2 separate regions of the Homo sapiens genome follow, and region 1 is linked to region 2. Evidence: promoter capture Hi-C in 16 types of primary human blood cells and fetal thymus (Javierre and others, 2016). All regions are on one chromosome and are shown on one strand. The core of a region is centred on a gene start or on the middle of the fragment in contact, and the rest is flanking DNA. Distances in the headings are between cores, read along the strand shown. Region 1 holds the start of SUPT4H1 (SPT4 homolog, DSIF elongation factor subunit). Region 2 holds the start of NCOR1 (nuclear receptor corepressor 1).

Evidence for each region. The method cuts DNA at HindIII sites, captures the fragments that hold promoters and counts their contacts. A CHiCAGO score of 5 or more calls a contact.
Region 1: the fragment with the promoter of SUPT4H1 here is called in contact with the fragment with the promoter of NCOR1 in region 2 in 1 of 17 cell types (non-activated CD4 T cells); the score reaches 9.2 in non-activated CD4 T cells.

What each region holds. Positions count from the first base shown.
Region 1 is chr17:58,350,377-58,354,690 of GRCh38, forward strand. SUPT4H1 (SPT4 homolog, DSIF elongation factor subunit) reads right to left here and starts at 1,825. Exons shown (of 5, transcript NM_003168.3): 1 at 1,691-1,825; 2 at 1,026-1,132. The coding sequence starts at 1,759. TSPOAP1-AS1 (TSPOAP1, SUPT4H1 and RNF43 antisense RNA 1) reads left to right here. Exons shown (of 5, transcript NR_038410.1): 4 at 1,368-1,538; 5 at 1,623-3,351. RNF43 (ring finger protein 43) reads right to left here. Exons shown (of 10, transcript NM_017763.6): 10 at 3,300-4,314. RefSeq lists silencers at 1,399-1,508, 1,789-2,218 and an enhancer at 2,606-3,141. The HindIII fragment of the contact is 2,691 bases long and covers 1,282-3,972 here.
Region 2 is chr17:16,212,767-16,216,944 of GRCh38, forward strand. It overlaps NCOR1 (nuclear receptor corepressor 1), which reads right to left and starts at 2,768. Exons shown (of 46, transcript NM_006311.4): 1 at 2,596-2,768. RefSeq lists enhancers at 1,564-2,480, 2,481-3,396, 2,974-3,033 and a silencer at 2,234-2,703. The HindIII fragment of the contact is 4,024 bases long and covers 308-4,178 here.

The sequences.
Region 1 (4,314 bases), core at 575-3,074, about 42 Mb after region 2:
TGGCAGGTGCCTGTAATCCCAGCTACTCAGGAGGCTGAGGCAGAGAACTGCTTGAACCTGGGAGGCGGAGGTTGCAGTGAGCCGAGATTGCGCCACTGCACTCCAGCCTGGGCGACAGAGCGAGACTCCATCTCAAATAAATAAATAAATAAATAAATAAGTAAAATGGCTAAAATGGGCCGGGCATGGTGACTCATACTTGTAATCCCAGCACTATGAGAGGCCGAGGTGGGCAGATCACCTGAGGTCAGGAGTTTGAGACCAGCCTGGCCAACATGGTGAAACCCCGTCTCTACTAAAGATATAAAAATTAGCTGGGAGTGGTGGTGGGTGCCTGTAATCCCAGCTACTCAAGAGGCTGAGGCAGGAGAATTGCTTGAACCCAGGAGGCAGAGGTTGCAGTGAGCCGAGACTGCACCATTGCACTCCAGCATGAGTGGCAAGGGCGAAAAGTCTGTCCAAAAAAAAAAAAAAAAAAAAAGCAACAGCTTTTGGGCAATGATCTACCATTACTACACCTCCCTTCCCTTCATTTTCAAAAAAAATTTTCATGCATTTAACAAACATTATTAAGATTACATTCTTTCTTCTCATGTTAAGTCTTTGAAATCTGGGGTATATTTTATACTTAAAAGCATGTCTTAATTTGGACTAGACACATTTCAAGTGCTCAGTAGCTACACGTGGATAGTGGTCACTGTATTAGATGCATAGCACTAGTATGTCCCAAAATAACTGTTGAGGCTGGACACAGTGGCTTACACCTATAATCCCAGCACTCTGGGAGGTTGAAGTCAGAGGATCATTCCACGCTGCAGTGAGCTATGATCATGCCACTGCACTCCAGCCTGAGCCACAGAGCAAAACCCTGATTCAAAAAAAAAAAAAAAAAAAAAAACCCACACAAAATAACCCCCAAAAACGAATGGCTGGGCCCAACTAGGATTAACACTTGCCCTGCATTTACTTCTCTGGGTGCAGGTTGGGTAATGCAGAAGTGAATGATGGAAACTGAAGCGGCTTACCCATCAAAGGAAGAGCTAGTGCAGTCATATACCATCTCTCGGTTACCCTTCATTTGTAGATATGCATCACAATTGTCACAACCATCATATTCAAACTGGTCTATAGTCTGGGAGTGAAAGAAAAATAAAGGAAAAGGAGAGATAAGCATGAACAAGACCAAGAGAAAAAGTAGCTTTCTCAATACTTCGACCTGCTCAATTTCTTGTTTCCCTATGTTGACTGTGTATCCTAAGGTTCCCCACCTACTACTCTCAAAGCTTCATTCCTAAGTCCCACCCTCCCACTCCTTCCTCTCTCGTTCCCAATTCCGTTTTATCTATTCCTTTCTCTAGTCTACTCAGGGTCAGGCATCCTTTCCGACTACTCACTCAGCAGCGGATCCCCACCCGCCTCTGACTCCCAGTGTCTTTCGGCTCCAACGTAAGTTCACCGAACGTCTAAGAGCTGAGGATTCAAAGGCATGTAAGACCGCCCCTGCCCTCAGCTGCAAGACCTGTCCGCGATCCTACGAGGTAAACGATGGCCTCCTTCGGCTTCTCACTCCCCCTGCCACCTCTGAGTTCTGAGACTTAACTTTTCTCTTTACTGTCCCACAGCCCCATTCCGCCCTCTTTCCCCGACCTTGGTCCCCCATGGGCCCTACAACCAGGTCCCCGACTGACACCTTGACCAGCGAACACAGCAAACAGGCCCGCAGATGCCGCAGGTCCTTCGGCACCGTCTCCAGGGCCATCTTCGCCGATGGGAAGAACAACAGGGAGATAGACGACCACAGCCTGTGCACCCGCAGGAAGTAAATAGCTCGTTACCCAGAATGCCCACCACTTCCGGCGCTTAGACTTCCTCTTCCGGTGTGGGCGGACGCCAGCTCCGCCCCTACCCCCGCCAGAGGAGATGGTTTCTCCCGCCAGCAGGCGGGGAGGCTGGGCGGCCGGCCGCCACCTGGGCCGGAGCGCGTCGCAGCCACCTGAGCCCGCCGAGGGCGCGGCGGAGGCTGTGTGGGGTAGTCAGCGGGCCCCCGGGGCGGGGGGGCGGCTGCGCTTGCGCGGGAGTGTGTCGGGCTGAGCCGCAGCGCCGAGACGCGGGCTGTTTGATCTGGGCTGGTGGCCCTGGGCGTCGGTCCTGTTCCCCGATGGTAACCCGAAGTTTGTTTTTTTTTGTTTTGTCTCCCCGTTTTAGAAGCATTGGGGGCAGTGAATCCACTGTCTCCCTCTGGATTGTCTCTGCAGAGACCGAGAAGAAATCCAGGGACAGCCCCACCCCTCCTTCCTAACTGCGAGAGCGCTATAGGGTTTCCACTTGCTTCCCACAGGAATGCTGGCCTGGGAGCTACGGCGGAAAAAAATGCGTATTTATCTTTTAAAACTCCGTCTGTTTGCTCGTTCCGGCTGATAATTTATACTTTGCGCAGTTCTTAGCGCTTAGACACGGTTCCTTTACTAAAGACCATTTGTAGGAGATTAGGTGTCCTTTTTTTCCCTTTCATTTCACCGTCTAGGAAGCGAAATGCCTTGTTCTATAGGCACTAAACCACCACCCCTACCAAACCTTTCTCGGGGAAGCAGAAGGGGAACTTGTGCCTTGTGAGGAAGCGACAAAGGCCCCTTCTGGCCCTGGAGACTTCACGCCAATGGAGCACCAGCTCTCTGTCCTCGCAATAGCCCGAGTGCAGGCAGAACGCAGTCATTTGTGTTTATCTGAGAGGAGCTTTGGGATATAAATAGTTTCAGGCCCCGCTGCGCTGTCATTCCAGCCCAGCCTCCTGATTGAGCTGCTTCCGGGCGGGCTTTCTTCTTGTTGGCGGTCCCATGCTGTGTTCAGATGGGCTCTGTGACAGGTTTGGATGTTTTCTATCACTGAATAAAACTTTCCACTTTGGAACATATTTTCTACACTCTATTATCTCATGTAAGTCCTGCAACAACTATTAAGTAGGCCCATTTTATGGACTGAAAAAGCGAGGCACAGAGTATTTGCCCAAGGTCTGAGTCACTGAAGTATGATAATGTGTGAAGTGAACAGTATAATAATAATGACTGAAGCACAGTAAGAATCCAGTCATGCTTTCTCCTTCCCTGATCTCACTAAGCCACACTTTTAGGGGCTTACAAACCAGTTCTTATTGCCAAGCCCTCTACTCTACCCTATCCTTTCATGAATCGGAGCCTAGCCTCTGATAACATAAATAATTTACTTCTCTTGATGTAGAAAGAGATGACGTTGTTACCCTGAGTGACAGTCACGACAGAACAAAACCACAAGACCAGACCACATTTGTGGATAAATATATTAGCAAATAAATATATTTCTTAACATAGTGCCTGATTCAAGCGTCTGTCTGGTTCAGATATAAATACCCATGTGGGTACCTAGGTGCTAGTCTCCCCACTAACTGAGGGAAAAAGGTTCCCAGGTGGGGTCCTCTGCCCACTTTGCCACCACATTCACATTCCAAATGGGATAATGCCTGAGGGGCCAAGAGTGGTCAGGCTGCCCTGGGGTGAATGTCACCCTGATGAGGCCCATCAGCTCTTGTCCACTCAGTGAGGCCAGACTTGTGCTCTAATCCACTCTCCTGTGGGTCCCTGGCCTGTATGGCTTATACTGGGGAGCTGGGCCTCTGGGCTGTCCAAACCCAAGGGTCACACTTTGCTTTTCCTTTGTTGTCCCCATTTTCCATCCTTGCTCTAAGACAAAACTTTTCCCAGAGAAGAACTCTTTGTTGTCCCCGCTCAGCTGTAATTCTGCCTTTTCTACCTTCATTCCATCCTTCCTCTGCCCAGATAAAGTCCAGCAGAAATTCCTCCTTTCTACCTCTCTGGGACTCTGAGACAGGAAATCTTCAAGGAGGAGTTTTTCCCTCCCCACTATTCTTATTCTCAACCCCCAGAGGAACCAAGGCTGCTGTACCCACCTCAGGGACAGAACTCCACACTATAGTGGGAAAGCTTCAGGGACCCCTCCTTTTAGTGCTCAGGGCTCACCTATGCTACTGGTCCTTTTGGCAAAAAAGGAAAATGATAGAGCCAGGGTTGCCCCTGATGTAGCAGCCTTACTGTGGAGGGGCCAAAGCTGGTGTTCAGAGCTCACCCAAGGAGGGAGGTGATAAGGTGTCATGCGTTCTGCTGAACCCACTGGCTGGTATGAACATGAGGCTTGGGGTGAGGGAAACCAAGTAGGGGTTGGAGAAGGAGCAGCACCTTTGTAACACCTGGCTACCCATAGCTAGCTTTCTGCCCTCAAAAACTCAGCCTTCAAGGGATCCAGCCCACACACGCCACAGGCAGC
Region 2 (4,178 bases), core at 1,518-4,017:
ACAATTTTTTTTAATGCTTTTAAGGCCGGGTGCAGTGGCTCACCCCTATCATCCTAGCACTTTGGGAGGCTGAGACAGGCAGATCGCTTGAGCCCAGGAGCTCGAGACCAGCCTAGACAACATGGTCAAACCCTTTCTCTACAAACAAAAAAAAAAATTAACCAGGCGTGGTGGCCTGTGCCTGTAGTCCCAGCGACTTGGGAGGCTGAGGTGGAAGGATCACCTGAGTCCAGAGGTCAAGGCTGCAGCGAGCCACTGTATTTCAGCCTGGGCAAAAGAGACCCTGTCTCCAAAAAAAAAAAAAAAAAGCTTTAAAAAAGTTATTAACTAATCTAATCTTTCCTATAAGTTAATTTCCATCATTTCATTCTTTTTTGATTAAGAGGATAGGCAAAACACAAATTTTACTGTTTTTTAAATCCAACAAGTATTCAATTAAAAATAAGCCAGGCACGGTGGCTCACGCCTGTAATCCCAGCACTTTGGGAGGCCAAGGCAGGCGGATCACGAGGTCAGGAGATTGAGACCATCCTGGCTAACACGGTGAAACCCCGTCTCTACTCAAAGTACAAAAAAATTAGCCAGGCATGGTGGCACGCGCCTGTAGTCCCAGCTACTCGGGAGGCTGAGGCAGAAGAATTGCTTGAACCCGGAGGCGGAGGTTGCAATGAGCTGAGATTGCGCCACTGCACTCCAGCCTGGGTGACAGAGCAAGACTGTCTCAAAAAAAAAAAAAAAAAAAAGATAAAATCAGCGAAGGGCCTATCCTGCTCTCAAGAGATAAAATAGGTACATAAATACCTACAAGATAGAAAGTGTAAATGCCGCGAGAGATGTGCAGAAAAAGCATTACAGGAGCCCAGAGGGAGCTGTTACCACCTCACAGAAATATAACCCCTTCAATCTGTTTAAAACAATTTTATAACTATTAACTCCCTTTAGGCTCACAACAGCCAACCCTAGGAGAGTAGATGTTTACCTAATATTCAAGATGAGGAAACTGAAGCACAGAAAGGTTGATCAAGTTCCAAAATCACATAGTTAGAGCAAGAATCAAGATACTTTGTATTATATTTTCTCCGGGGGAGTAGTTCAACATATGGCAAGCCTTTTGTAAAAGGAAAGAGTATTTTAGTATTGTAAGTAATCAGTTCCTACTGTGAGCATTTTATACATAGCTATATCCATATATACAATTAATCTTGATTTCCATTAACAGGTGTGCTTAAAGCAAGGCCAAGCAACTGGGTACTATAAATATTAAAACAAATAAATAAACTTCCACCGGATGTTAACAGAAAAAGAAAAAAAGATACAAGATTTCTCTCTCCAGTAACTTGCGGTTACTTCTTCTGTAATTGTTACCCTTGTCTAAATAACATTCTAAAATTGGTCTGCTCCTGAGCCCGGGCAAGTACAAGTTGGTTCATCCAATAAATATCTTCATGAAAAGGTACATCAAAACATTTTAAAAAGCTATTAAAAATTAAACGATGCCATCAACTCTTCAGTTATCCACAGGACAATCACATGTGACCCAGCATCAGCAGCTATTGATCAAGATATATTGAACGAATGAATGAATCTTTGTAGGCATTTTTAAATCCCGGGCCTGTTGCTCCTTGCACAGTGCCATGTTCAGCCTTCCATCACTGCCTCACCAGGGTGCACACAAGGAATGTAAATTTCAATATAATTAGGATATAATTAGAGAAGCAAATCTGATGCAGGTTTACATACTAATCCCAAAGATTAGAATTACCTATACTACTACTCTCCAAGGTTAACTCTGTGGAAGAGGCACCGCAGCATGCAACATCACATAAAGAAAACTGACACTTCCTGAGCAAATAGTTTTCGTCCATATCACTTATTCCCATCCATTCCTTTAATACATGACTATTCCTGATCCAGTTAATTTGAAGAATTCAGTCTCCTCTCCATAAAGGCTGATTTCACAACTACAGTTTCTCAAATTCCTCTCTCCCCAAAAAGGGGTGCACTTACGGACTTCGCTTAAGAAAACACCAACAATAAACGGCAGAAGGTATAGTGTTCGGATCTTTGCCATCTCCACCAGTACCCAGCCTTCGCCATTACACCCTGAAGCGGTCTGTTAGAAAGGTGAACTAATTTACTCTGCACGCACTTGTCCATGGCTGTCAACCTCCGCAGCCCCTTCTACACTTCCAAGTCGGCCACCAACTCCGCCTCAGTGAGCCCAGGCCCGCCACCTGCGCCGGCCCCACCCGGGGCACCGGCTGCCCGCTCTCCCTCGCAGGCCCTGTAGGCTCCGCACGCCCCTCCGCACAGGACACCTCGGGGCCAGCCCCGGCCCGGCCACAGCCCATTCTTCCTCCAAACTCCATAAGCCTCCGCTAGCCCAGCCCGAGCTCCCCGCCGCGCCCGGCTCTCTCCTGGGCTGCCGAGTGGAAGAGGCCAGGCGGCCAGGACGGGTCCCGACCTGCCCAGGCCTGCGACACCCCCCGCCCGGCGGAGAAACCGTCCCAGCGGCTGCTGCCCCGGGAGCCCTCGGAAGCCCCCGGACTAGCAGGAGCCCGGAGGCCGGGGTTGCAGGCGCCAGGGCCTACTCACCGGGAGCTGGCTAAGCGTGGGAGCCGACGTGCGCCCCGGCCTGAGGAGTGGGACGCGGCCACGGCGCGCGGCCCTACACCGGGACCTCGTTCGGCGCGGCGAGTCGGACGCTCACTCCAGCCGCCGCCGCCGCCGCGGCTGCTGCTTCGCCACCTTGGCCGCCATCTTGACTCAACCCCTCTCCCTCCCCCCAGCCCGCGGAGCCGCGGCTAAGGCGGCTCCAGCGCCGGCTCCTCCTCCTTCCGGAGAGTTGGGAGACCAACTCCCTCCGCTGGCCGGGCGCCTCTCCTACCTCGGCGGAGCTTCCCGGGTCGCGCTGCGCCCGGTCTCTTCATGTCTCCTCTAGGCCTGGCAGCGGCGGTCCTCTCGGACGGATACGGGGCCGAGCAGCGCCCAGCCGGATCCAGCGCTGCTGCCATCGTGCCCTGGGCTTGTGCGCCCCCCGCCTGCCCGTCTGTTCCGCGCGCCCGAGGCCTTCCTCAGGCGTGGGAAAAGGAAAAACTCCAGGCCGTGGAAGGGACCCTGCAAACCCCTCCGCGGCGTGGTGGGGCGGCGGCGGCCTCCTCTGGCCGGAGCTGCGTACAGGGAAGCCGGTCCCCTCGTGGCTGGGAGCTGGAGGGGTGCATTTCGACCTGCCCAAGATACTTTCTAGGGCTCTGGCTGGAATTCGCACCAAGCCCTCACTGAAATGCTGGGCGAGGCCGATTTGTCCACGATGTTGCTCCTTAACCTTAAGTTACTTGCAAGAGGAGCCTGTGGCCCTCGCGACTGTTAAGTGCACGCTCAGCCTCACCCTGCTGGGGAAACGACGGTTCCTCGTAACCGCACGCATACGTTCCTTTAGAAAAGCCAGGCCCGACCGGACGCAGTGGGTCACGCTTGTAATCCCAGCACTTAGGGAGGCCGAGGCGGGCCATCACTTAAGGTCAGGAGTTCGAGACCAGCCTGACGAACATGGAGAAACCCCGTCACTACTAAAAATACAAAAATTAAGCGGGCGTGGTGGCGCGCGCCAGTAATCCCAGCTACTGGGGAGACCGAAGTGGGAGAATTGCTTGAACGCGGGAGGCTGAGGTAGCAGCGAACCTAGGTCGCGCCACTGCACTCCAGCCTGGGCGACGGAGCCAGACCGTTTCAAAAAAAAAAAAGAAAGGGCCGGGCGCGGTGGCTCAGGCCTGTAATCCCAGCACTTTGGGAGGCCGAGGCGAGCGGATCACGAAGTCAGGAGTTCGAGACCAGCCTAGTTAACATGGTGAAACCCCCTCTCTACTAAAAATACAAAAATTAGCTGGGCGTGGTGGCGCGCGCCTATAGTCCCAGCTACTCGGGAGGCTGAGGCAGAAGAGTCGCTTGAACCCGGGAGACAGAGGTTGCAGTGAGCCGAGATCGCTCCACTGCACTCCAGCCTGGGCGACAGAGCCTCTCAAAAAAAAAAAAAAAGGTAAAGAAAGCCATCCAAAAGTGAGAAGGAATAACAAAGTTGGTGTAACTGGCTATTTTGGAAAACTGTCATACGGATAACGGGCTGTCTAACCCTATAATTACGAGAAAGGCCCGAGTTTTAAGAAATGAATTCGAAAATG